Regions from separate parts of the Homo sapiens genome. Here regions 1, 2, 4, 5, 6 and 7 are each linked to region 3. The links are contacts of gene promoters, found by promoter capture Hi-C in blood cells and fetal thymus (Javierre and others, 2016). All regions are on one chromosome and are shown on one strand. The core of a region is centred on a gene start or on the middle of the fragment in contact, and the rest is flanking DNA. Distances in the headings are between cores, read along the strand shown. Region 1 overlaps TSEN15 (tRNA splicing endonuclease subunit 15). Region 2 overlaps NMNAT2 (nicotinamide nucleotide adenylyltransferase 2). Region 3 holds the start of APOBEC4 (apolipoprotein B mRNA editing enzyme catalytic polypeptide like 4). Region 4 overlaps NMNAT2 (nicotinamide nucleotide adenylyltransferase 2). Region 5 overlaps COLGALT2 (collagen beta(1-O)galactosyltransferase 2). Region 6 overlaps COLGALT2 (collagen beta(1-O)galactosyltransferase 2). Region 7 holds the start of TSEN15 (tRNA splicing endonuclease subunit 15).

Evidence for each region. The method cuts DNA at HindIII sites, captures the fragments that hold promoters and counts their contacts. A CHiCAGO score of 5 or more calls a contact.
Region 1: a fragment that was not itself captured here is called in contact with the fragment with the promoter of APOBEC4 in region 3 in 2 of 17 cell types (activated CD4 T cells and endothelial precursors); the score reaches 7.0 in activated CD4 T cells.
Region 2: a fragment that was not itself captured here is called in contact with the fragment with the promoter of APOBEC4 in region 3 in 1 of 17 cell types (neutrophils); the score reaches 6.4 in neutrophils.
Region 4: a fragment that was not itself captured here is called in contact with the fragment with the promoter of APOBEC4 in region 3 in 1 of 17 cell types (neutrophils); the score reaches 7.6 in neutrophils.
Region 5: a fragment that was not itself captured here is called in contact with the fragment with the promoter of APOBEC4 in region 3 in 1 of 17 cell types (M1 macrophages); the score reaches 5.1 in M1 macrophages.
Region 6: a fragment that was not itself captured here is called in contact with the fragment with the promoter of APOBEC4 in region 3 in 8 of 17 cell types (naive CD4 T cells, non-activated CD4 T cells, total CD4 T cells and 5 more); the score reaches 6.9 in naive CD4 T cells.
Region 7: a contact is called between a fragment that was not itself captured here and the fragment with the promoter of APOBEC4 in region 3, in 5 of 17 cell types (non-activated CD4 T cells, activated CD4 T cells, total CD4 T cells and 2 more). The highest score is 6.8, in non-activated CD4 T cells.

Annotation. Positions count from the first base shown.
Region 1 is chr1:184,064,413-184,068,446 of GRCh38, reverse strand. All of the region lies in intron 3 of TSEN15 (tRNA splicing endonuclease subunit 15), which reads right to left. Among named protein-coding and RNA genes, the nearest start is that of TSEN15, 15 kb to the right of the region's middle. RefSeq lists an enhancer at 1-118. The HindIII fragment of the contact is 5,213 bases long and covers 1-4,034 here.
Region 2 is chr1:183,284,141-183,287,811 of GRCh38, reverse strand. NMNAT2 (nicotinamide nucleotide adenylyltransferase 2) reads left to right here. Exons shown (of 11, transcript NM_015039.4): 5 at 1,024-1,150; 6 at 3,022-3,102. Among named protein-coding and RNA genes, the nearest start is that of LAMC2, 100 kb to the right of the region's middle. The HindIII fragment of the contact is 3,071 bases long and covers 523-3,593 here.
Region 3 is chr1:183,651,634-183,655,266 of GRCh38, reverse strand. APOBEC4 (apolipoprotein B mRNA editing enzyme catalytic polypeptide like 4) reads left to right here and starts at 1,951. Exons shown (of 2, transcript NM_203454.3): 1 at 1,951-2,195. It also overlaps a transcript of RGL1 not described here. The HindIII fragment of the contact is 5,397 bases long and covers 1,159-3,633 here.
Region 4 is chr1:183,267,651-183,271,554 of GRCh38, reverse strand. The region is part of intron 8 of NMNAT2 (nicotinamide nucleotide adenylyltransferase 2); the gene reads left to right. Among named protein-coding and RNA genes, the nearest start is that of LAMC2, 83 kb to the right of the region's middle. The HindIII fragment of the contact is 7,306 bases long and covers 1-3,904 here.
Region 5 is chr1:184,026,182-184,029,812 of GRCh38, reverse strand. All of the region lies in intron 1 of COLGALT2 (collagen beta(1-O)galactosyltransferase 2), which reads left to right. Among named protein-coding and RNA genes, the nearest start is that of COLGALT2, 9.7 kb to the left of the region's middle. The HindIII fragment of the contact is 238 bases long and covers 1,818-2,055 here.
Region 6 is chr1:183,951,888-183,955,521 of GRCh38, reverse strand. It overlaps COLGALT2 (collagen beta(1-O)galactosyltransferase 2), which reads left to right. Exons shown (of 12, transcript NM_015101.4): 7 at 684-760. Among named protein-coding and RNA genes, the nearest start is that of COLGALT2, 84 kb to the left of the region's middle. The HindIII fragment of the contact is 3,444 bases long and covers 1-3,379 here.
Region 7 is chr1:184,047,795-184,051,822 of GRCh38, reverse strand. It overlaps TSEN15 (tRNA splicing endonuclease subunit 15), which reads right to left and starts at 93. Exons shown (of 5, transcript NM_052965.4): 1 at 1-93. The coding sequence starts at 67. RefSeq lists enhancers at 14-308, 187-316, 377-486, 239-1,174. The HindIII fragment of the contact is 1,099 bases long and covers 2,125-3,223 here.

The DNA of each region.
Region 1 (4,034 bases), core at 1,270-3,769, 410 kb before region 3:
AGAGGGAAGGTGAGGACACACATCCTAATATGCAGAGAAGCCAAATGACAGAAGTCATTTTGCAATTATGAGACTTTAGGACTCAAATAAAATAGTGGTCATTAAATGAATTTGTAATAAGGATTATGCTTTCAGAAAGTGGAAATATTTTTCAATTACAGGGAAATAATAATGGACGGTCCTTCAAGAAAGTATGTAGCATTTGAGGATCAAATCTCATAACTAAGAATATCTTCAGAGATGTTCCAAAGAAAGAACTAGTTCTAGTAACCCTCTACTCCAGAATTAATATAAGTCCTTTTCCCAAGGCACTAGGGAAAAAGAGGGGTGAAAGGGCAGAGAGAATATAAATGAAAAAAAATTCAACTAAAAAGTAAAGAGGCTATTCATAACATTGGCAGGTTACAATGCAAAGCGTGGAAAATGGTGATAAATCCTGCAAGTGGATGGATTTTGCAGATACATACATATGTACATATATATATATATATATATATATATATATTTTTTTTTTTTTTTTTTGAGAGAGAGAGTCTCGCTCTGTCACCCAGACTGGAGCACAGTGGTGTGACCTTGGCTCACTGCAACCTCCACCTCCTGGGTTCAAGCAATTCTCTTGCCTCACTAGGCCTCCCAAGTAGCTGGGACTACAGGCACACACCACCACATCCAGCTAATTTTTTGTATTTTTAGTAGAGACGGGGTTTTGCCATGTTGGCCAGGCTGGTATCAAACTCCTGACCTCAGGTGATCCGCCCACCTCAGCCTCCCAAAGTGCTGGGATTACAGGCGTGAGCCACTGTGCCTGGCAGATTTTGCAGACATTCTAATTTTTTGGAAATTCTTAAAAGGTTGCTTATAGTATATTCTTATGTTCTTTAAGGTATTAATTAGGAAGTCTCTGCTGCAGGAACACAGTAGCCTAAGATAGCTTACCCAATCTTTCAACAAATACTTACTTAGCACCATGTACCAGGTACCAGGTTAGACCCCAGGGATATACCAATAAACAAAACCAAGTTCTCACTTTCAGGGAACTTACTTTCTAGTGGAGGAAAACAGACAGTAGATAATCAAAGAAAACCAAATATGAAATATGTTGAGTAGCATTAATATATCAAGTGTTTTAAAGGAGGACCACTTAGTAGGTCCAGGAGGTGAGATAATAGCAGCTTAAGCCAGAGTGGTAACAGTTGTAGTGTAAGTGGTAAGAAATGGACAGATTCTGGATGTAATTTTAAGGAATTGACAGGGTTTACTGATAAATTAATTTGGGGGTATGAGAAAATGGAAGAATAAAAACTAAGAGATTATAGCAAGGTTACAGGATACAAGGATAATATACAAAAGTCCACTGTATTCCTATATATCAGCAATAAACAATTGGAATTTGAAATTAAAAACAAAACACCATTTACATCAGCATCATAAAAGATAAATATTTAGGTATAAATCTAACAAAATATTTATAGGATCTATGTGAGGAAAACTGTAAAACTCTGATGAAAGAAATCATAGGAGATCTAAACAAATGGAGAGATAGTCCATGTTCCTGGATACCAATTCTTCTCAATGTGATCTACAAGTGCAATCCCATTCAAAATCCCAGCACGTTGTTTTGTAGATATTGACAAGCTGATTGTAAAATTGATATGGAAAGGCAAAAGAGTCAGAATATCCAACAAAGTGTTAAAGAACAAAGTGAGAGGACTGATTTTATCTGACTTTAAGGCCTATTACAAGCCGGGCACAGTGGCTCACACCTGTAACCCCAGCACTTTAAGAGGCTAAGGCAGGCGGATCACTTGAGGTTAGGAGTTTGAGACCAGCCTAGCCAACATGGTGAAACCCTGTCTCTATTAAAAATGCAAAAATTAGCCAGGTGTGGTGGTATGCGCCTGTAGTCCCAGCTACTCAAGAGGCTGAGGCATGAGAATTGCTTGAACCCAGGAGGCGGACCGGGTTGCAGTGAGCCGAGATCGTGCCACTCCACTCCAACTTGGGCAACAGAGTGAGACCCTGTCTCAAAAAAATCACATAAAGAAAAAAAAAAGACCTATTGTAAAGCTATAGTAATCAAGATCATGTGGTATTGGTTAAGGAATAGATGAATAGGTCAATGGAATAGAATAGAGAGCTCAGAATTGACTCACATAAATAGTCAATTGATCTTTGACCAAAAAAAAAAAGGCAATTTGATGAAGAAATAAACATCTTTTCAACAAATGGTGTTAGAGTAACTGGATATTCACCTGGAAAAAATCAATCTAAACACTGACCTTATATCCTTCATAAAAATTAACTAAAAATGGATCACAGACCTTAATGTAAAATGCAAAACTATAAAACTTCTAGAAGACAAAATAGGATGCCTTGGATTTGGTGATGAGTTTTTAGATAAAATACCAAAAGCATGATCCAGGAAAAAAATTATATCAGATTCTATTAAAATTTAAAACTTCTGTTCTGCAAAATACAATGTTAAGATAATGAAAATATAAGCCATGGACTGGGAGAAAATATTTGTAAAACACATATCTGATAAAGGACTTGCATTCAAAATATACACAGAAGTCTTGAAACTTATCAAAAAGAAAACCCAATTTAAAAATGGGCAAAAAATCTGAACAGACACCTCACCAAAGGAGATATACAGGTGGCAAATAAGCATATGAAAAGATGCTCAACATCATATGTCATCAGGAAATTGCAAGAAGTTAAAAGAACAATGAGATGCCATTGTGTGCCCACTAGGGTAGCTAAAACCCAAAATGCCATGCTAGCAGGGATACATATTGCTGAGTGAAAGCCAATCTGAAAGGCTACATACTGTATAATTCCAGCTATATGCCATTCTGGAAAAGGCAAAACAACACAGAAAGTAAAAAGTTCAGTAGCAGCCAGGGATGTGTTTGGGGGTGAAGAAAGGGATGAATAAATGAAGCATAGGGTATGTTTATGGCACTGAAACTATTCTGTATGTGATGATGAATACATGACATTATGCATTTGTCAAAATCCACAGAATTGTGCAAAAAGAATAAACCCTAGTGTAAATGACAAATTTCAGTTAATAATACTAATAATGTATGAATATTGGTTAATTGTAACAAATGTACCATACTAACACAAAGATGTTAATAATAGGGGAAACACTATGCTGGACTGGGACTTAGATGGGAAATCTCTGTACTATCTGCTCAATTTTTTCTGTAAATCTAAAATTGGTCTAAAAAATAAAGTGTGTGTGTGTGTGTGTGTGTATACATTTTAAAATGACTCTAAGGTTTTTGGTCTGAGCTTCAGAATGAATAGAGTTGCCATTTATTGACAAAAAGAAAACGACAGAAGGAGAAAGTATAGGAGCAAATCAAGATTTCTTTTTGGACATGCTAATTTGAGATGCCTTTTTTAGATCACAGCGGAGATGTCAAGTAGGCACTTACATATATGAGTCTGAGGTTCATGGAAGAGGTTGGGATGGAGATAAAAATTTGGGAGTCATCAGTATATCGATGATATTTAAAACCTTAGAACCAGATAAGGCCGCTTAGGGAGTGAGTATAATGAAGAGAAAAGCTCAGATGACTAAACCCTAGTTACTTAACCTCCTCAAATCCCCAAATTAGGTTCTTGCATTAATAGCTAAACATCTATATCCTTACAGATTTGCACATTGTAATTGGTATCCATTACAGAAAACAGAAACAAGCATTACAATTCCTAATATTCTGACTCAAATAATTTTCCCACCTTTGTTTCAGGATTTCCTACAGATTTTGTAGTGGCAAAACTCTTGATTTAACTTTCTCTTACCTTTGACTTCCTTAATCCTTAAGAGGTTGCTTCTCCTGAACTGTTACTTCCCAGGAGGAGAGCTGTTTGTTTGTTTGTTTGTTTTTTCATATTTTTTCTATGTCTGTCTCTCCTTTCCTCCCCTCCTTTTCCCATCATTCCCATATCTCTTGTATCACACATACTCACTCCTTCTCCACCCATGCCACACCAATCTAGGGCTTTCTCACCAACTGCAG
Region 2 (3,671 bases), core at 809-3,308, 370 kb after region 3:
GGCCTGGGGGTCCCCTGGCAGCAGAACCCAAATCCAGAAAGGGTAGCGTGCAGGAGTGGGTGGTGGGTACCCAGGCAGCTGGCTTTTGGAAACGAAGAAACCTTGAATAAGCAGTGGCCCCTGTGAACCTAAACAGATTGGGAATTTGTCCTTTGTTTCTCTGTTGCCCAACAGCTACTCTCCCCATCACCTTGGCCCAGTGGGATTGCTTCTGGGTCAGCTGTGAGGAATGCTGCCTTATCAGCTCTGTGTTTTCTGCAGCACTGGTGAGGAGTAGCCTGGCAGATAACTCAGGACAATAGATAATACACACAGAATTTCCACTTGGCTCTGTCATGTGTATTCACACTGAGCAGGCGAGAGAGTGCTCAGAACCCACCCACCCTGCTTCCCGCAGCACAAACACATCCTGTGCTGCCTGGCACCACTCTCCCTCTTGCTTGGCTGTGTTACTGACAGCTCTGGCCCAAAGAGGCCGCAGGTGGTGATCGTGCCTTGTGTTTGTATGACCTTTCCCAAGCTTACAGAGCCCTTTTGCAGACATGATCTCATTTGAGCCCCATGAAGCATTTGGGGAGGGCAGATATTCATGTTACACAGAAGGTTCCAGCATCGCCTGCTGCTGACAGAGCTCCTGCCATGGGTCAGGCACCCCATAGGCACTTTGCATATGCTCGCTTGTGTGACCCGACCACAACTGAAAAAGACAGATATATGGTTAGACTCCTGATTTGAGGTTCAGGAGCGATGAAATAACTGTCCAAGGTCACATAGCTAGAAGGAGGCAGAGCCCAAATTTGGACCCAGGACCCATTATAACACCACATCTCATGCTTCTCCCACTGAGCTGCTCCTGCCAGCCTAGTGACCACATGATGCAGCTGGGTCTAGAACCCATCCCCAGGGCTCTTCCTCAGCTCTGGGTGGCCTCTCCATGATGGACAAGCAGATGACCACTTGGAGATAACTTTGAAACGATTCTCAAAGTCACATGACTAATAACACTCTTCTCTCTCTCCCTAGAGGGTGACTGGCTGCATCCTCTCCAATGTCAACACACCTTCCATGACACCTGTGATCGGACAGCCACAAAACGAGACCCCCCAGCCCATTTACCAGAACAGCAACGTGGCCACCAAGCCCACTGCAGGTAGGGGAACACTGATGTGTGATTCTCAGACCTCAGAATCATGTGGAGGGCTTGTTAAATTAATGACTACTGGGATCCACCCAGAACTTGATTCAGTAGGTCTGAGAGGGGAAAGAGGACTTGTATTTTTAATAAGGTGCTGCTGATGCTGCTAGTCCAGAGACAATACTTTGAGGACCCTGAATACTGAGCATAAGAGCAAACCAGTCACAATCAGAGAGAGGCAGGTGGTGGTGTGCACTCTTCTCCTGCATTTAAATATAAACGTAGGGCCGGGCCTGGTGGCTCACGCCTGTAATCCCAGCACTTTGGGAGGCTGAGGTGGGTGGATGGCTTGAGCCCAGGAGTTTGAGAGTAGCCTGGGCAACATGACGAAACCCCACCTGTACCAAATAATAATAATAATAATAACAATAACAAAAATTAACTGGGCATGGTGGCACACACCTGTAGTCCCAGCTACTCAGAAGGCTGAGGTGGGAGGATCTCTTGAGCCCAGGAGGAGGAGGTTGCAGGGACTGGGGGACTGTGCCACTGTACTCCAGCCTGGGAGACAGAGTGAGACCCTGTCTCAAAAAAATACATAAATTTTGAGAAATAATTGTGTTAACTGGGAATTGAATATACAAAATGGAGCATTTTTCTCTGCCTCTTCTAGGGAGGTTGAGGATCTTGCCAAAGGTCACACAGTGAGCAAGAAGCAGGGCCATGAGTCACACCCAGGCGGTCCGCACCCAGAATCCCCACACTCTTAGCCATCAATCCAGTGACAGAGAGCACCAACACATACCCCAAACCTAGGACTATGTGCCCAAATGATGCTCGTGCTTTACCTGCGTTCTTATTTAATGCAGTAATACTGTGATATAGACATTATGTTCTCATTTCAAATAGAATACAGATTCAGAGAAGAAAAGTGATTTGCTGATTTGTCACACAGCTCAAAAGTAGAAGAGCTAGAATTCATATTCAGTACTGTCAGGCTCCCAGGTCCATGCTCTAAAATTTTCTTCAAGCCAACTCCAAGAGACAGATTCTGATATTACTTTTCAAGCCTGGAGACCATAAGCTATTATATTATTGGTCTATTATAAACAGGGTAATTCACAAAGAAGAGTCAGAATTTCACAGTTTGCATACAGCTACATGTGGGGGGCTCAGAAAATTTTTCTGGATTGGAGCCCAGAGGGATAATTGAAAACCAGATCCCTCTCAGCCAAATAGGATGTCTGATGATTCTGAAGACCATCTGCATGGGAAGGAGCGCCTTAGCCCAGCAGAAATGGTTCCAAGCATGTACTTTGCTGAATCTCCTTGGATGTGGGTGTAGCTGCCCAGTGGGAGGAGCAGCTAAGGATAGGCTTGGGACAAACCTGGGGAAGAAATGTTCATGATATAGAAAATGAAAGAAGCCAGCAGCCTATATGCCCTTTAAATGGAAAATCTGATCCACTTTATGTAGACATACCTGCATAATACACATTTAAAACATGAAAGAAAATAAATGACATGCCAACAGGTTGGCAGGAGTTATCTCTTGGGGTGGGATTATGGGTGCATTAAGTTTTCCTCTTTATATTTTCCCTCTTCTATATTTTCCAAGTTTTCAACAATGAAATAAACATAACCAGAAAATGGCTTCCAGTCTAGGGCTCACAATGCGTGTGCCTCAGACTGTGAGTGAGAAGAAGGAATTTGTGCTGTCATATTTCTGTTCTTTCTCTCTACCCTCCTGCTACCTCCTGCTCCCCACTCCTGCCCCGTCCATGCACCCTGATGTTTACAGCGGCCCCAATGCCGGGCCGACATGAGTGCCAGTTGTGAGTTGTTCTCTCCCACTCTGTCCCTGTCTGTCTTGCTCTCTCCCATAGCCAAGATCTTGGGGAAGGTGGGAGAAAGCCTCAGCCGGATCTGCTGTGTCCGCCCGCCGGTGGAGCGTTTCACCTTTGTAGGTGAGGAACCAAGGAACTTGATTCCCAGTCCTGTCTCTTTTCTTTCTCTCCTCCCTTCATTCCTTCAGCAAAGATCCTCAAGCACATTCCCCCCACCGCAAATTCCCGTGATTGTGTGTGTGTGCGTACTTGTGCACAACGTATCCCCCCACACAGGCGTTGCACACACAAGGGCACATCGAAGACTCAGTCTTTCACATCTTCCTGCAGGCACTTGCTACATTCCACCATGTGAAAAAGTTCTGCACCCACAGTGTGCTTGTTCTTTAAACCAGGTAATCCCTAAGGAGAGCCAGCCACCTCTTGTGGCCCAGAAAGCCATCTCCCTAGGTTGTAAGGATGTTGCTCTTGTGGCCAGCCTCCCTCAAACACAGAAACAGAAGGCGCTCAGCATGAGCGTGTGTGTGTTCGGCATTGGCTCCCCAGCCAGGCTGTCTCATTCTGAAAGTCCCAGCAATGTGAAGTGCTGCTCCTGGAGCGGGAGGAAAGCTTCCTGTCCGTTTTATGCCTGACTGCTCTCCATTCACCCTCCTCAGGTGGCACACCACACCCCTACTTGCACCCACCCC
Region 3 (3,633 bases), core at 702-3,201:
GATATACCCCAAACTGGGTTGTCAGAACATAGATTAATAATTTTTGGAGTGCCAAACTGAGTAAATGTCTCTTAAAAATTTAGATCATTGCAGGATAGTTTAGTCTTTGTAAATCTTCTTCATTATAATCTCATAATATCTCTACATAAATAATATACATCATAACTCATCTGAATGAAGATGAAACATGGCAGATTAACAAAGGAAGACAGAAAAGAGAAGAAAGGAGTCTGTTGGGGAAGCTAGACATTTCTTCCAAGCATCTCCTTTCCAATACATGTCAATTTCACTGTGAACAGGAACCATGGTAAAGGCCTTTCATTTCCTCCTGATGAAGTTTAGTCTTAAAAGTCATTCTGTGCAACCTAAATGGAATGTTGCCAACTTAACATTCCTTGGAGTCTTCCTACATCTAACAGACAACTACCTTTAAAGAATAATGACTAATTGGGGTTGCCTATCCCTAAAATCACCCTAAAATGCAATTGATAAATGTGCTAGTGGACAAAGGCTCATTTTTCCTGTTTCTTTAGGCTTAACCTTCCATAGGTATATCATTTGCTGAGCATCTAATCCACCATGGAAGGTGCACAGTGCACATGGGATGCTGGTGCAGATTTGGGGACTATATTTTTTGTCTTTTCCTCCCCTCACTGGAACCTGTCAGACAGCTAATACTTTCTTACAGAACTGAGCAGGCCCTCAGAACTTGATTCTTCAGCTAGCGGGAGAAAAACCCCAACATGTTCTCTTCAACAGTCAGCTATTATCCTTTCACCCAGCTTTTGATAAGTAATATTTTTAAAGTAATGTTTGCAATAGATTGTCATTTATTAGGATTAAATAAAAGATGAGCTATGAGGATTGACTTTCAGTTCCATATTTACAAGTTCATTCAGTTAGAAGATGCAAGCAATGAGAAAAAAGGGATGACCCATGGCAAACTGTGGGGAAGGGACAGGATGCAGCAGTGACCATGTGCCAGAGCAAGCACCAAGGAAGATGAAACTGAAAATAACCAGCTGAGGAGTTCATGAATACACCTGAGGCCCTTAGGAGACAAAAACATCTCGTCTAGTAGGAGCACTCTGGATGAGAAAGGATGTGTGCTGTGGTGCAGACTGGAAGTCTGACAGTGGAAACAGGCGTGGCGAAGCTTCGAGAAGACAGAAGGTGCCCTCTGGGTGCTCAGTATCCCTGAGTTATTTTTAGAGTATGTCTGCTTACAGCCAATAGTTATTACTGGAATGTACACAATAGCAATCCCCACTCACTCCTTCAGGTGGCCTGGGAAAGGGGAATGAGGGAATAATCCAGAGTGATTGACAGTGAATTGTGACTATCAATGTGCCTTGTGTCTAGGAGATGATGTGGGGGTCAAGGGAGACTAAGGAAAAGAATGGAGAAGGACAAGTGGCTCTTCCGTTAGCCACAGAGAAGGGGCTACAACCGATCCTGGAACAAATCTTGTCTTAAACTGGAGGGAACCACATACATACCAATAGCAAGAGTCTTCCAGGCAATTTCTAAGAGGAGGGAAACCGCTAACACATAGCCTAGGTTTAGACAGAATCAAAAACACCCCCTTCAGGGACTATGGGCCTCTTGGAGGAAGTCAACTCTCTGCTCCCTCTCACAGAGGGCAAGCCTCCCAAGGAGAAGCCCTGGCACCCACGCAGGCAACAGAACCGCCAGGCCTGGCACCTACTCTAGACCAGGAGAAAGGTGCTGAGGAGCAGGCCCTCAGAACTTGATTCTTCAGCTAGCAGGAGAAAAACTGCAACATGTTCTCTTCAACAGTCAGCTATTATCCTTTTACCCAGACTGGGATATGCAGTCCTGTATATTTTCATCTTTGGAACAGGTGGCTTGATATGCAAATAAAGTAATAAGTGTCAGAGCTGTATCCTAGCAGTAGCTACTTTGCAAACGTTACCATGGCACCCAATCAACAGTGTTCTTAGAGGTAGCCACACCTCAGCAAGGGCTTTCTAACTTGGAACAGCAAAGTTCAAATGAACGAATAGACACAAACTGTGAAAGAGTCCTGAACCCATTACAAGGTGAATCTTTACAGCACAATTGCCTTCTGAAGCTACTTGAAACAGGGCATGGGACTTAAAGGAGAAAAAAAAGGAAATGGACCATCTCTTCTAACACCTGGAATGTGATCCAAGCCTGGAGACAAATTGATGGTAATTATAACTGCTAACATTTGTTTTTAGCTGCTAACAGATTGTGCACAGATTGTGAAGGGCAAACTCCATTCTCCAATTACTCCAGTGCAAACTGTGCTTTAACAGTACTCACTAAATCCTAGTTGAGTGAAATGAGAGCAGATTGTCCTTATGGTGTGGTTCATTTATGTTAAACTATGGAAAGCTGTCCTCCCACGGTCCCAGTCCAGGGGCCACTCACAGCCAGATGCAGAGAGCCCTCCAGCACGCTGGGCTCTACACATCTCTGTTCTTACTGCCAGCAAATCTGCTCTACAGAGTATAACATGTATTTCCCAAGCACAGACAAAGCAAAAGGAAAAGGGCTAGGCAGGAAGTAGGGACACCAGCTGCTGGGGAAACAAGTCTTAAGCAACCTGGCTTGTGAGCCAATCAAGGTTGCTAAGGTAGGTCCTGGGCCTAAACAGGGTACATTTCCACCTGGTTGGGGAGAATAAAATGACAGATACCAAAAGTTAACAAGATAATCTGTGGTCGATAACAAATTGATACAATAAACCATGAATTCTCTAAGAGTTCAAAGAGGGCAACAGTTCTTTCCTGCTTCCTCTTCAGATGAGGGTGATCAAAGAACAAGCCCAGAAAGACTCTGAAAAAGTGAAAACTTCACCAATAGGAAACTATAGTTGGTTGACACTGAAAAGTTGTCAGCAAGAATGAGACTACAGAGCTCCCTCCACTATGTGTTAAAGCCACAGTCCTCTCCATCTCCTTAAAGACAGTAATGATGTATCATTTCTGGCTAAAACAGCCACAGAAGATGGGGGTGCAAAGGAAGGCGTGCTTAGAAAAGCAATAGGGAGTTTCCATTTTGCTACCTTTATCTAAAAACACACAAAGACTTTTGTTTCCCAAAAGGGTAATTATGGGACCATTATATATAGTTAACTCCACATACACATCACCTTAAGAAATAGTAATAAAGACAGAAAAGTGCCTTTTGGTTCTGTTTCCATAACATTTAGCCAAATCAATCTGTAAATTGTCTATGGGTGAGTTGAAATTGTAATCTGAGCAGTAACCTGGATGTCCGGTGTACCACCCATAAGTCGACCACATCAAGGGCACAATATTAAAAAGCATGAAAGTTTGGGCTTGGTTTTGGCAAGTTCTGATGGAGAGATCCATCCAGCCTGATGAAGGCTAAGCAAGGAGGAGGTCCAGAGAGGAAACAATGCTCGGGAGTAAGCAGGAAATGGCGTCAGGTTCCAAGAGATCGTCCACTGCCAAGGGTTAAATCCAGCTCTCTAGAAGGAAAGCTATGACAAGGTCTAGGAAGCCTCAAGGCAGGAATTCAGTTACATCAGGAAAATATAGTACTAAGGAAAAAACAAAGCTAATGTCCAATCCTATGGATTAAGATGACACAGCAGAGGCTAGGAGAAATCTAGAATCT
Region 4 (3,904 bases), core at 1,056-3,555, 380 kb after region 3:
ATTCCATAAATGTTGGCCGTTATTCACTTATTTTAAAATATTTATTGAGCACCCAGCCATGTGAGAAAACAAAGTAGACAAAGTACCTGACCGTGCACTTTGCTTTCTGTGGGAGGGGGTGGCCCTTGAGCTGGGCTTTGAATTGTGAGCAGGACTGGGTTAAGTAGGTGGAAAGAGAAGAGCTTTTTAAGGAGGGAAGAGGATATAAAAGATTCGGTGGGGGGAACAAGACCTTTGGGGAGATGGTTCTGGTTGGTTGAAATAGGTGGATCCTGGTATTTATTTGGGAAGGTATTAACTTTTGAGCAAGCAGCAAAATCATTAAGTTTAATGATTACATGTATTAGCTGCTCTCAAGAGTATTTGCATTTCAAATGAGCAAGAGTCAATATTTAACCCAAAAGAGTAAAAACTTGGGGATGGAACATCAGCCACCAGAGATGGCCACTGAGGGAATTGTTTTATCTTTTTTTCTTTTTGCGCTCCTCAAAGCCCAGCATTCCACAGGCTGGTTCTAATTGGCTGTATCCTACATTTTTCCAGCCAACCAGCCGTGGGCTAACTGCTTCCTACATCCATCAGCTATGGGAAAACAACCAAAGAAAATAAACAGAGGAAGAGCCTCGGGCATTAGCCACTCCAGAAGAAATCCCAGGGCCCCAGGATAAATGGAACAAAGACAAACTTTGGCTATTCAGGCTCAGATGGTTTTTATCAGACAGTCCAGCTCCAGCCAGGAAGCCTGATGGACTCTTGCACCCCAGGGATTAGGCCCCCACACTGATACGACTGATACCAAACGATACCAAATTACAGTCTCAGGGGAAGGAGGCTCAGCTCCTGCCAATGGGGGATTCTGGCTGTTCTCATGTGAAAGGCACTGTTGGTTTGGTTTCCAGGCTGTTGACTTGAGTCTGGAATCCCCTGCCTTCCCACACCCCCAGTTAAGTTGGCAGTGGGAGTGGGGATGATTTCATCTGGGAAGCCCCTCTTAAGAATGGTTCTCTCTCTTTTTTTTTTTTTCATTAAGAGGGCCATCCTGGAAATGCATTTCCACCTGCTGGACTCTGACCTTACTGGTTTCCTCCCAGCCTTTCCTCCAGAGAGTGGCAGGGGCTACAGCAAGGGTGGAGGATCCTTTACTGAAATGGAGGGAGCATGTTTCAGAAGCTGCTCATATACTGCATGGCTTTTGTCACAAGTTCTCTCTTTGCATCTTTTTAAACTCATCCAGAAGTATACTAAAATTATAATACTCTAAGGGTGATACAGAGTACCCCAGCCTCCCAAGTAGCTATGGTAAGCTGGGGGAAAAAATAAGGTAGAATGTATTTTCAACTAGAAATACTTCTTTAACCAAAAAAGTTTCAAGGCCAGGTGCAGTGGCTCACTACTGTAATCCCAGAACTTTGGGAGGCCGAGATGGGTGGATCACGAGGTCAGGAGATCGAGACTATCCTGGCTAACACAGTGAAACCCCGTCTCTACTAAAAATACAAAAAAATTAGCCGGGCGTGGTTGCGGGTGCCTGTAGTCCCAGCTACTTGGGAGGCTGAGGCAGGAGAATGGCGTGAACCCGGGAGGCGGAGCTTGCAGTGAGCTGAGATGGCGCCACTGCACTCCAGCCTGGGCTACAGAGCGAGACTCTGTCTCAAATAAAAAAAAAAAGTTTCAAGTCACTACAATATGAGTCTTAAAAGTGGATCTAGAAGAGGTGTGATGTGGAGGAAAGAGTCTTTAAGGCAGACCACGGTGGATTCCATTCACATTCACTCGTTAGCTGTGCAACTTGGACAGGTTATTAAATCTCACTGAGTCTTGGTTTCCCCACCTATGAAATAAGAACTGAGGCACATATCTCAGAAGACAGTTGTCATAAGGATTAAATGCGATAAGCTCCTAGTACTGTGCATGGCACATAGCAGGCACCTTAATCAATGTTTCTTCCCCTCCTTCCCAATGGGCCCATGTGCATCCCTGACTATCCTTATCCAGAGAAGAAACACAAATGGGCTGCAGTCGCTGATGTACTGTACCTGAGAAGAGAACACTGTTTGGGAGGGAAACTCAGGCTTCAGAACGCTGATCTCAGGATGGCCCTGCAGAGGATCTTGCCAGTTAAGCCTGCCAGGGCAAATCCACATACATTGGATCCTGTTGCCGATGGAAGTTTCAAGTCCTGTGTTTAAAATACTCTAATGGCATTTCTTTGCAATTGGAATGAAACCCTGTCTTCATGATGACCTGGTACTTGTCTACTTTTCCAACCGCAGTGTGTCCTAGTCCCGCCTAGTTTATTTAAACAGTTTTCCCCACCTCAGGGTCTTTGTACTAGCTGTGGCCTCATTGGGAATCCTCTTCTCCTAGATATCCCTGTGCCCATCCCTTCGTATCACGTAGGTTTCAACATAAAGGTCATTTTGTTTTATAATCAATATTGTACTTAACTCTATTTGATGTTTTCTTTTTATTTATTTATTTTTCAGAGACAGGGTCACACTCTATCACCCAGGCTAGCGTGCAGTGGCGTGATCATAGCTCACTGCAGCCTTGAACTTCTAGACTCAAGCAATCATCCTGGGGTCAAGCGATCCTCTTGCCTCATCCTCACAAGTAGCTGGGACTCAGGCACGTGCCAACACACTCAGCTAATTTAAAATAAAATTTGTTTTTGTAGAGATGAGGTCTTACCACCATGTTGCCCAGGCTGGTCTGGAACTCCTGGCCTCAAGTGATCCTCCCACCTTGGCCTCTTAAAGTGCTGGGATTACAGGTGTGAGACATCACACCTTGCCATGATGTTTTCTTATTTATATATTTATTTGTTTATGATCTCTCCTTACTTGAAGGTAAGCCCTTTGAGTACAGGAAACTTGCCTGTCTTATTTGCCAATACCAGAACAGTGCCCAGTTCACCATATACATGCTCAATAAAAGTTTGTTGAGTGAAAGGGTGCTTGAGAACAACTTGGTTGGAGGAGTTCAGCTCATAAGACAGTTTGCCTCCCCCATGGGATATGACCCAAACTTTTGCCAGTTACCCATAATATATTAGTCACTGTAAGATATTAGCCACCCGGTAGTAACCTACTCATATCTTCACAGCAGTAGATACAATTGAAAATAATCATTTGTTTAATGTCTCACACTAGAGAGTGATCTGTCCAAGAGATGAATCCATATCTGCCTTGCTCAACCCTGCATGCCTAGTGTCTAGGAAAGTGCCTGGCTAAGACCACAAGTCATCCACCCACTCAAAGCATCCCTTTAAATCCAGCAAGGCAGGGCAAGAGGCTGAAATTCAGCCTCTTGGAGGGATGATGCAAACTCTACGTTCCTTCCAAGAGCTCTGCTGCCTGGATCATGAGTGTTTTCTCTTCCAAGGCCAAGTTGCTTCCTGCCTCAACATGTCTCATATCCTTCCCTCAGATTCCCCACATTTGGGGAAGCAGAGTCTACCCCCTCCCACATCCTCTCCCCATCCCTATCCCTACCTCCCCTGGGGAGCCTTTGACCAGAAGATGAAAAGATATGATCAAAGCTGTGCCTGTGAGCAGGAAGTAGAAGCAGGATAAATGTCACAGACCCCCACCTCTGAGGCTCGACATATGCCAGTGCTAAACTGAGGGCCACTGTATGCTGCAGGGGGAGAAGATTGTGTCCTGATCCTGCCCATGGTGTGGGGTCACATTGGCCACCATCACGAATGAGATTTACCAATCAGGACAGTTCTACCGCATTGGCCACTCGCCCACCCCACCTCTCCACCCCCAAGGGCAAGACCCATAGAGAGCTCTTCATGAAGACAGGAGGTGCTGGTCCCCTCGAGCAGAAAAATAGTTCAGTTCCAGAGGCCTGGGCACACTCCTGCAGGCGGCATAGGAAGGGGATCTGAGTGCCCTAT
Region 5 (3,631 bases), core at 687-3,186, 370 kb before region 3:
TAACACCTGTTCCAGGCAGGTACTCTGAAGGCCTCTCTGATAACACCCGTCCTGCTCTCTTGTCCTTGTCTCTCTGGCCTCTAGAAGGTCTGGCCCTAATAAAAAAAACTTTTTGATGAGGTGTAATATTTATCCAAAAGTTCATATATCATAAATGTATAACTTGGTAACTTTTCACAGACAAAACATGCCATGTAACCAGCACCTGACCTTGCCAGGCCTGGATTCATACACAGCAACTATTGTTGGAGCTGAGTAGCTGCTGTCCCCTGGATTTTGTCCAGGCAGCCCAGTCCCCATCAGACCCACACTGTGTGCACTTGCAGTTAGTCCCCGCTGTCTTTCTTTGACTTGACTTGCCTGACCCATGTTGACATTTGGGTGGTGAGCTTTGCTCCCACCTCAGGCTGCTGAAGGAACCCTAGGACCCAAGCAGTAACTACTTTGGGGAACCAGCAGGCTTGGCAAGCTGCCAGCGAGTGACCTAGTGGTAAAAGGATCAGGATTGTATTACTTTTCCCTTAGCTCTCTACTCCTCTGGTAGGAAAGCTGTGCATTAATGTTCATAAAAATAAAAATCTCATTATAGGTAATAATTGAAAAGTCAGGTAGAATATAAATAGAGTGGCTGTAATTAATTTGCTGGAACTTTCTGTAGTTCAGATCCGTGAAAATGCAGCATTTGTGGTAGGTGGCATTAGCCAAGTCTCTTGCATGAATTAAACCTCAGATTTGGCTGCAGGGCGTTTCTTTTCCTCTCTAGGAGCACCATACAGAAATCCTTTCAGAGTTAGACTTTGAATAATAGCTCCATGACATCTTGCTAGGGCTGACTTTGTAACGTGTTTCACTTAATTGAAGCAACAATTATTATTTTAGTTGTTTGTCAAATTCAGCAAGCTAAGGCCTGTCCCCTGACTTGTTGGTTTAACTGATAAGATTTTGTTCCTCTGCAAACATAATGCAAAATAATCTCCTTCCCTCCAGTGTTTTCTGATTAATGTTTGAAGACATCTTAGAAGATATGTCTTTCAGAAACACAAATAATAACATAAATAATGATCTTAGAATAGTGATCTTGGGCTGTATACCCCCAAGAGTATGGTAGAAGATGAGTCTGGGACAAGCTGCTGAGCTGAAGCATTTTCATGAGTACCTGATTTCATTCACACATTGGCTTTATTGGAATAGTTCATTACCTTCCAGGTTGAATCACTTCAAGACCTATTGAGGGATACATCAGGCTGCAGAGAGGAGGTTCCTTACATAGAGCTTTCCCCATTTGGACTGCCAAGCCCAAAGTGCATACAATTGCTGCCAAGAGGGAAGTAGGACTGTTTCTTTCCAGTCCCTTTTCTTTCTGAGAGTGATTGTATATGTTTTGGAGATGGGGAGGGCAGTGGTGAAGGCAAGTATCTCATTCTCACAAGAGAGAGACATAACTCTAAGACAGGAGAGTCTGTGGAGGTACATTGATTGGTGTTCTCCCTGAAAGCCATATTAAGTGAGAAACTGCTGCATTTTAGAGTCTTGGGAAAGGTAGAATTTTCTAGAGACTAACAGTAGAACTTAAATTCTTGGGATAGTTGTGAAAAGTGTGGTTGTAGACATTTGGGGCCATAGCATTCCCGACACGGAGTCCCTTGCTGGACTAATAGACTGTTTTTTAGTTTCTTGGTTGCCAGCCAGCCCCATAATCCTGTCTCAGCACCACACACCACAATGATTATGGTTTACACCCGCCAAGATAGTGGAAAGTTGCTGCCAAGTGGAATCAGGATTTTTCATGTCATCACTGCACCATTGAACAGTAAGCTTATATGCAGCTTCCACGCCACTGCTTTCCTTGTGCTAGAAACAGGTTGGGCGGGAGAGTATTCAGACAGTCAGACCATCTCTTGTGTTGCAAATGGATTTTGTGGAATTGGCATGTAAGGCTTGAAACAGCCAGCATACGAAAATATTTTAGAAAAGTACAAGCCTCTTCTCTGCCTTTCCTCAATCTTGTTAGATTTTAATAAAATTTATTGGGTACGTTGGTTTCCATTGTAAGCTTTTTATTTAGCAAGACAAACTATGGATTTCTAAAACAATGGATTTTTAAAATGTTACATCCTTTTATTTATTCCACCATCACTGATTGTCTATGTGGATAAATCCAGGTAATCATGTTGAAATTAGTAATTGAGGTGGCCTAAAAGTGACTTGTCCCCATTGGTCTAGTTCATTGTCCATGAGTGGACATGGTCCTTACCATTGTTCTGCCAACCCTTTAGTGTAAGGCTGCTGGATTCAACTAGTGTTTCCCAAATACAGGTTCAGAGGCCAGTTGCATCACAATACCTGGAGCATTTGTTAGATACATGGATTTCTGGGGCCCATTTCAGTCACATTCATCAGATGGTCCACAGCGGGGTCCTAGGAATTGGTGTGTTAAGCATGTACATAAGTGATTTGGATGCACTTCTTCTTGGTTTGGGAACTGCAGAAGATGAGCTCCTAGAAGGCTATGTATGCACTTAAAGTACAGATCATGGGATTTTCAGAGTTTGGAAAGTTGGCATACTCTGGAATATTCTAAACTTCAGATTCCAGATGCTTAAGCCATCAAAAAGACCAAGGGGTTTTCTTATTAAGAGAAGTAGTAATGTACAGGATTACATAGGAGAAACCCAGCCAGGCATGCATCATTTGTGTTTTTTTGTTATTATTATTAAGTCAAGCACATATGTTCCATCTCCATCTAATAGTGACTATTTTTTTAAAAAGATTTTTTAAAAGACAATGCCCCAAATGTTTTACCCACTGTATGAAGCTCCTTGCACTGGGGCTCAGTATAAAACGACACTCCCTCACATTCTTTCTTCAGTGTATCTTACACAATGAGTTCATTAAGCCTTTAGTATTGCAGAAGAAAAAATACCTACTAATGAACATCTTAGAGTACAGGGAAATCAAACCAGTGCATTTCTTTAAACTAAGTAGAATTCATTTGAGCCACTTCAGTCCTTATATACCCTAATCTTGGTTTCTTTGTTTCTTGTATTTAATTTTCTTAGATTTTTCCCGTTGGCATACCATTAAAAATTCCTCCCCTCATTTGTGACAAATGTAAACAGTCTACTAAATTAGCCTGTTTTTAGTAGCTGGCAGTTCAGCCTTAATTACATGATATTACAAAGTCCCTAACCCTGGTGTCTTCACTAGCTATGAACTCAAAATATGGCTTTTTAGAAATTCACACAGTTCTGTTCTGCTATACAGAGGATTGTTCTGAGTTTGTTGCTGCTGCACAACAAATATTTTTTAAGAAGTTGATATAGCAGCATTATTATAACTGCATGTACAGCAGCCTCCTGTGGGGAAGATTGCAACTCAGTTGTTAAGTCTTATATGGTTCCATACCCTATTTTCTTGTGCTCTTTTGGTGACAGGGCAAAAATTCTACAATAAAGTTCTTAAGTTTATGCATCCACTTTATTTTTGTATCTTTTATCCTTCTCAAAAATGTGAACTGCATACCACAGCTTAGCACATCCCACCAAGAAAATAACAATCACCTGGAGATGAAGTGAGGCTGGTGGCAGTGGGGTCTCCAGGACAGTTTCCTCTAGCCAAAAGCAGCGTCTTT
Region 6 (3,634 bases), core at 408-2,907, 300 kb before region 3:
CTTCCCATTAGACATGGGCCAGCTCTCTGTGGTTAGATCCTGTTAAAGCAATGGACCTTTTGCGCACCCACACCTAAACCTGCCCAGGTGGGATAAAAATAGTCCCCCACTTTGACAATTTTAAATGCAGAGAAAAAAGTGTTTTTCAGTAAAAATTCTAGCCTATTTCTGAGCTCTTTCATCATGGGCCATAGTAAGTAATAGCTAAGAGTTGTTGAGCATTTACTGTGTTAAAGTGGTGAGTGCTTTGCACGCAGGTCTCATTTAAATTTTATAACACAGATACACTTCTATTATCCCAATTTTACACCAAAGAAATGAGCTTAAAGAGGTCCCCTAACTCTCCTACTCCTTCGCAAACCAAGGTTTGGACCCAGATCATCCGACTCTGGAGCCCTTCCTCTTAACCATTATCCTAAACTGCCTCCCAAATATTCTTGAAATAAGTCTTAAGGGAAGTGGAGCAAATGTTGCAATCTCCATATAATCAAATGCTCCTGAAACCAGTGCCCTGACCAGCAGGGTTCCTGTGTGGCTACTCAATCCTGGAGAACTGCTGCCATTGTCCCCTGCCCTGTATTTCCAAGTTATATTCCAACCCTAGAGATCAGGCATGCGGATGGAATTCTGATTTCTGACCCTTTCATTAACAAAGCACTCTGCATGTTTCTTGTGTCTTCCAGTTGACCGTCCTCCAATGGAACCCTCCCAGTATGTCTCAGTTGTCCCTAAATATCCAGACAAGATGGGATTTGATGAGGTAGGAAAGGTGTCTATATGTGTGTGCACATGCACGCGTGTGCAGGCTTGTGTGTTCATTTTGGAACACAAGCCTGAGCTTGCATCTGAGAGCCAGCAAGACTGGCTTGGCTGCTGAAATGGCTCTGAGGTCTTGGGAAAACTACTTGGTTTTTGTTGTTCTCAGTTTCCTTATCTTAAAAAAAGGAGTATCATGATAAATGTAGTTAATCATTTACTTAGAAAGAAATTACCATTTAGTAATGAAAGTGAATTTGATATTTTCTAGGAGCAGATATTGTGATATTTTTAATCAACCTTTTTATCAAAATTCAAGAGTAAGATACAGAGGATACATGTTTTAGATATGGAGGACTTTAATTTTATTCTGCCACATCTGAGCAAGTGGAAACTATTCTGGAACTTTCTGTGCTTTCTTTTATTTCTACTATTCTTCCATGGAAAAAGGTTAGAGAGCAGGGTTGAGAGGACAAAGAAAGAAAAAAAAACATATTTGTTCTAAAATTCTGCCTTTCAGCAGGCAAGAACTTCCTAATAATATTCTAAGGGTAGTATTTATTATTAAGTTTTAGTTGTATAAAGAATGAAGCAGAAATATTAAGAGGTTCCCCTCCTGGTAATATGCGTAACAGATACTTGGCAGGGATTGTGACTCCACATCACTGACTCTCTCATGGGTGTCCCCTGTAGCTGCTGAACAGTATTCAGAAGGAGCTTGGTGGTCTAGAAGCTAGGGCAGTGCCTCAGGAGTCCACAAACTGAGAACTCTTCCATGGACTCTGGATATGTAACAGATCAGGCTTCGAGCTTGGTGCTAATTGCCACTGATTAATCGAAGGAAGATGCCTTATTTATCACATGGTAACATATACATACATATATGTACATGTCCCCAGAGTACAGCCTTCTCAAAGGGATTTGACGCTAGAACTGGGAATTAAGATTTCTTCCGTAAGACTGATTTGGAGCTATACTTCAGGAAGGGGGAAAGAATATTTCATGATTATTAAGTGGGGAAGAGTTAACAGCTACTATGGTATTTCCACAAAGGGCAGAATGAGAAGAGATGAGCTGCATGTAGTAGAGAGGAATAAGACTCATTTGCAAATAGTTTTTAAAAATGATCAGGGCTATAGAGAAGGTTGTCCCACACCCACAGTGGACCAGCTTCCACATGTTACTGTAGCTTTCCTTCCCTACAGCTCTCTCTCGGTTCCCTAGGTGAAAGGACCCAAGTGTCCTTACATAGATTCATTTCTCCTCCTAAAAACATTCCTATGAGGACCAAACCAAAGCAAATAAAATAAGACAAAACCAGGATCTTCCAGTTCCGGTCTTCTTTGGGCAGGACACGGTGTAAGGACTGGGTCACTCCTAGAGCCCTTCAGGAGAAGGCCAACTCCATGAAGTGGCACAGGCTCGGAGACTCTACTTTCCTGAGTCTGAGGTTAGTCACCTCTCCGTATGGAACAGAGATAGCATGGTAGAAAAAGGGCTTTTCAGGGGCTTTTCAATCCTCCTCGGACTCTGTGACCTCACTGGTGGTGTCTGGGCTGCATTTGGCTCTGATGCTCTTTTCTCTGTTTACTGTTCACTAAGTGTGAGTGAGCCATCTGTGTTTTTACTTCGTGGCTACAGTTTTATTGCACTTGTCCTGGCAGGGACTGGAACTGGATTGTTATTTACTGAAAGTCTTCCCAGACTGGAGGTCTCTGTTTTTGGGGGCCTTTTTGGATTTATTTCTGTTGATTTTTTGTTCTGTTCTGTTTTTGTTCTCTTAGAGTGACCTCAGGTGGCTTCATGTTTATACCTGAGAAAATGCCCTTTCCTTTCCATATCTGGAAAATTAGGGGATGAGGCATGACCCATCACAGTATGATTCTGACTAAAAGAACACAACCCATTAAGTTATAAAGTCCCAAGTAATGAGGCAAATAGAGTCACCACAGAAAATTATGTTTTTTACAAAATAATTACCCAGTTAGGTAAACAAGGAAGGTAGTAAAATTAGGATGCACTTAATCTACTTGGCCCTAAATCAGGTGGACAATTTCTTCAAAGGGAATATCTTGCTCCTCCATCAGTTTCTACACCCAGGGATTTATAAATGGATAGAAATGAGAATATTTTGCAAGGAAGGGTTGAAATTTTAGTTAGTGTAGCTTTTAATTCCAGTGAAACATATATTTATGACTGCATTCAGAATGACCATGTGAACCAAACCTTAACACAGTACAATCTGAACTCCAGACTGGTTCTAAGACAAAGTTTCTCCTTTATTCTGGCCATAGCAGAAAGCCAACTTTATTATAAACCACCTGTCTTAAACATTTTAATCTGTACTGAATTTGAAAGATGAGTTTGTGCACCTCCCTATTTTTATAGAACTGGACCCATAAACATTAATGTCTCCTCAAAGTCATCCAGATGGTTAGTCAGGATGAAGTCAACACCACCTGACTTGTTTCTATAGGTTTCTGCTTTACCATGCTATGTGTCATCCTCATTTCTCACTGGCAGTTAAAGTCACTAGTTTAACATTTAAAATGAGTTTCTTACTATTTGTAGCAAAAGGACCTTATTAAAACATTGATTTACGTGTAAAGGCATTCACAAAGCTTTAGATACTTCTATGGTTCATTAAGTCTGGGAATAGTGAGGACATCCTCATTATCTGTAACTCTTGTTGTCCTTGTTGAAAATGAGTTGGCTGTAAATGTGTGCACTTATTTCTGGTTCTCTATTCTGTTCCATGGTCTACGTGTTGTCTATTCTTATGCCAGTACCATGCTGTTTTGGTTACTATAGCTTTGTAGAATATTTTGAAGGCAGGTAGTGTGCTGCCTCAAGCCTTGTTCTTTTTGCTCAGGACAGC
Region 7 (4,028 bases), core at 1,425-3,924, 400 kb before region 3:
CGCGAACACCGCCCGGACCCAGGCCGCTGCAGCCGGGGGTCGGCTCGGAATCGCCGCGCTCCTCCATGCCGGCCGGTGCGGCGCTCCCGTGGTGCACCACGACCCGCGCCCGGCCAGAAGCAGCGGCGCGCGCGCCTGTGGGTTCCGCTTCCCCGAGGCTCGCAGCTGCAGTGCGAGAGGGCTCAGAAACTGGGAGGAAAGTTGCATCAGCCCCTCCTTCTGACCAAGGTAGCTAGAACCTGCGCGAACGCTCTCTAGTTTCGCTCTGCGTTTATTCAAATCTGAGCAAATTCTAACGTGAAAAATATTAAAGAGTAGCCTGCGCCCTGAAGCTCTTAATCCTCTTTAAGTCAGTGCTGCCGATAACTCTCTGAGAAAGTTGGGGGATACATACGTCCTCTTTGCCTTCAGCAGTGGGGTCCTGGTTTCTGATTGCTGGGGACGGGAAAGGCCTTACTCAGTGCCCTGACATAGAACTTTAAAGTAGAACCATACTTTCAGGGTGGACCCACGTTTCAGGATTAGAGGAAACACGAGTTGCTGAACGAGTGTTCAGAAAGGTAGGATACAAACTAGCATAAGCATGTGATCTGGAAGCCAAGGATGAGGAGTTTCAAACAGGCAGAGTAGCACATTTTAAGTATTTTTTAATTTACTGTGAGTGAAATGGGAAGCTATTGGAGGCTCCTGGACGTTTTCATAGGATCACTCTGACTGATATGTTGAGGATAGACTGGAGGGAGCAAGGACACAAACAGAGACTGGTTAGGAGGCTATCGCATTGACCAGGACAAGGGTGACTCAAAATCCAAAGTCCCAGGCAGGACATAACTTCTGTTTTCAACCATGATAGACTAAGACCCTAGTGGACCATCCCCCAGCAGAAAACAATTTGGACACAATGCAAAAAGCTGAATATACTGGAATGTGAATAGTGGACTGGTAGGAAGGGCAAGCTTGCTTGAAGATCAGGAACTACACTTGGACACAATACAAAAAGCTGAATATACTGGAATGTGAACAGCAGACTGGTAGGAAGGGCAAGCTTGCTTGAAGATCAAGAACTCCACAAGAAAATTCTCCTCTCTTTGGCATTTAGCTTGGGGCAAAGTGCAGTCCAGAAGTCAGGCTCAGCAGTACCAGGGATGCATGTATAAAACTTATCAGTTATTCTTGTCTGGGGAAGCAGAAAAGTGAAGACAGAAAATTTTGAATTCTGAAGAGATTAAGAAATCCCAAGGAAGGAGTCAGAGAGTGGATCCCCAAACTGTCAACCCACATCTCTGAGAGATCCTGAACCACCCAAAACAGAATCACAGCAGCTCAGTTAAAAACAAAAGATCTGAACTGAGACCAGAGCTGTCTCCAAAAGGGAGAGAGTTTTCAGTTAAAATCTAGCCGGGAAAATTACCTACTAATACAAAGGAAATAACACTCATCAGAGAAGAATAATAGAATCCAGACTCTCCACTTAACACTCACAAAGTCCAGAGTACTATCCAAAACTATCTGACATATGAAATTCAAGGAAATGGATCGCATACTCTAGAGATCAACCCTGAGATGAATCAGATATTGAAACTGACAGATAAGGATTTTAAAGTGACTATTATAACTATCCTCAATGAAGTAAAACATGTTTTCAATGAATGAAAATCTCAGGAGACAAATAGAAAATCTCAGCAAAGAAAAAGAAAAAAAAAGATTTTTAAAACCAAATGGAAATTCTGAAAATTGAAAATTATAATTTTAGAAATAAAAAATTCACTGGGTGAATTTAACAGCCAAAAAAAATTACAAAAGAAAAAGTAGGGAACTTGAAGATAGAGCAATAGAAATTATTAAAAGTAAACAACAAAGAGAAAAATTATCTTTAAAAAGTGAGTAGACCAACAGAGATTTGCTACATGTCAGACAATCCAACATGCATGTAAACAACAGAAGTAGAAAAAAAAAGGGACAGAAAAAATTTTTGAAGAAAGAGTGGTGGCCAGAATTTCCCCAAATTTGATGAAAAACACATTTACTAGTACAAAATGCTAAATACATAGCAACTAAAATAAACACAAAGAAGTCTACATTGTAATAAAACTATTGAAAGTCAAAAAAATAAAGAGAAAAGCTTGAATGCATCAAAAGAAATAACACATCATACACAGGGAAAAGAAGGGCATCTATTATTGAATGAAATGTAAAGCCACACATGAAGATTCATATGTTGCCCTCAAATACATTACATTTGAATGAACCTTTGCCACCACAAAGCAGCTGCTAAGCCCGAAAGAAGAAAATGGCACTGAAATTAATTGGGTCATTGAAGCATGAAACACTGACACGAATTCAAGTGATTGGAAGTGAATAAATCTCTCTGACTCCTAAAGATCCAAATCAGTTCATATGATGGCATTTTTAAAAGCATTAAGAGTATTTTGATGCTAATCTGAGTAGAGGGAAACTTTTATAAATCAGTAAGGATATCCAATGGGATTAGGGACTATATGAACCAGCCTCAAACATCTGCAGGGGAAGAATTTCAGCTTATGTTCAAGAAAAAATAATTGGGGGTATGGAAAGAACCATAAACCAAAAAAGCAACAGATAAATGCCATCCTTTGGCAAATAGATTAAATACTGTTGCTTAGAAAAAGCATGATACATTCAAGAATGAGTATTACGTGCTTTTCAAAAGAGTTGAAGAATGAAAAGGGAGTGTCTGTTAGCTTCCCTGTTAATGTAAATTTTTAAATAGGTCTTGGTGATTGTGAATGGCTAAGAATGAACACAAAGGATTTGGGAACACTTAGACAACCCAGTATTTAAAGTACAGAATCAAAATACCTATTGTGACAATCTAGAGTGAAATCCACTAGAGAACAGAGGAGAGTTTCAGTGTCTGGTATCCTGGAGGATTTCTCATTTTGTAAATGCTTCAATAGTTCACTCTATTAGAGAACCAAAGTAGTGAGAAAAAAAAGCTAGATAAGAAACAACGAATGAAATCCCCCCTGAGTATATTGGATTTAATCAAATTCATTGTAATCTGGCACTTGCTGAACTCATTTCCCAATGATATCCTGAGCCAGATCATTTTATTCCTACAAAAATCTGTAATGTCTAGCCAGAGACATATTAATTCAGTAAGAGTCTCGAGGAAATGCGAACACTAAATTGTGATGTGAATCTCTAGTGTGGAAAGAAAATTTAAAAAAGAAGAAGAAAAGCTTTTACACAGTATTGTATGAGACAGTGATTCCAAGCTGAAAAATGTAGCCTAGCATTCTGGATCAGCTTTTCATTCATTGGTTGTAAGGAGGTTCACATATATCTTGTTCCTTTTTTTGTACACAAAACACACAATTTCCTATTCTCTGTGTTTCAAGAACAGAGAAAGATTCAAGAAAGAGAATGATTCAATATTGTAAAGATGGCAATTTCCTCCAAAGTTATTTACAGATTCTATCAATTCCAATTAAAATCCCAAAAAGTATTTTCTTAATACCTGATAAACTGATTCTGAAATGTGGGCATAAAGGGCCAAAAATAACCAAGACCCTTTTTGTGAACAAAAGGGAGAGAACTTACGAAGTTAAAGTTCTGAAATATAAATATCTTATAAAGATAAGGTTTTAAACAAAATTTAAATTCTTACAAAGATCTCTAATTACAAGTATGTGATATTGGCACATGGATAGGTAAAACCAATGAAGCAAAATAGGGAGCCAGGCAACAGACCCATACACATGTGGGCAGATGCAAGAAGGGAAGGAGAGAAGGGGTGATTGGCTACACGGTATAGGCAAACACTTTTAAATCTCTAGGAGAAAATATAAAAGAATATTTTATGACCCCAAGTTTAAGAGTGATTTCTTAAGACACAAAAAGCACAAACCATATGCTTCACTCATGTCCCTGTGAAGACACCACCAAACAGGCTTTGTGTGAGCAACAAGGCTGTTTATTCCACCTGGGTGCAGGTGGGCTGAGTCTGAAAATAGAGTCAGCGAAGGGAAATAGGGGTGGAGCCGTTT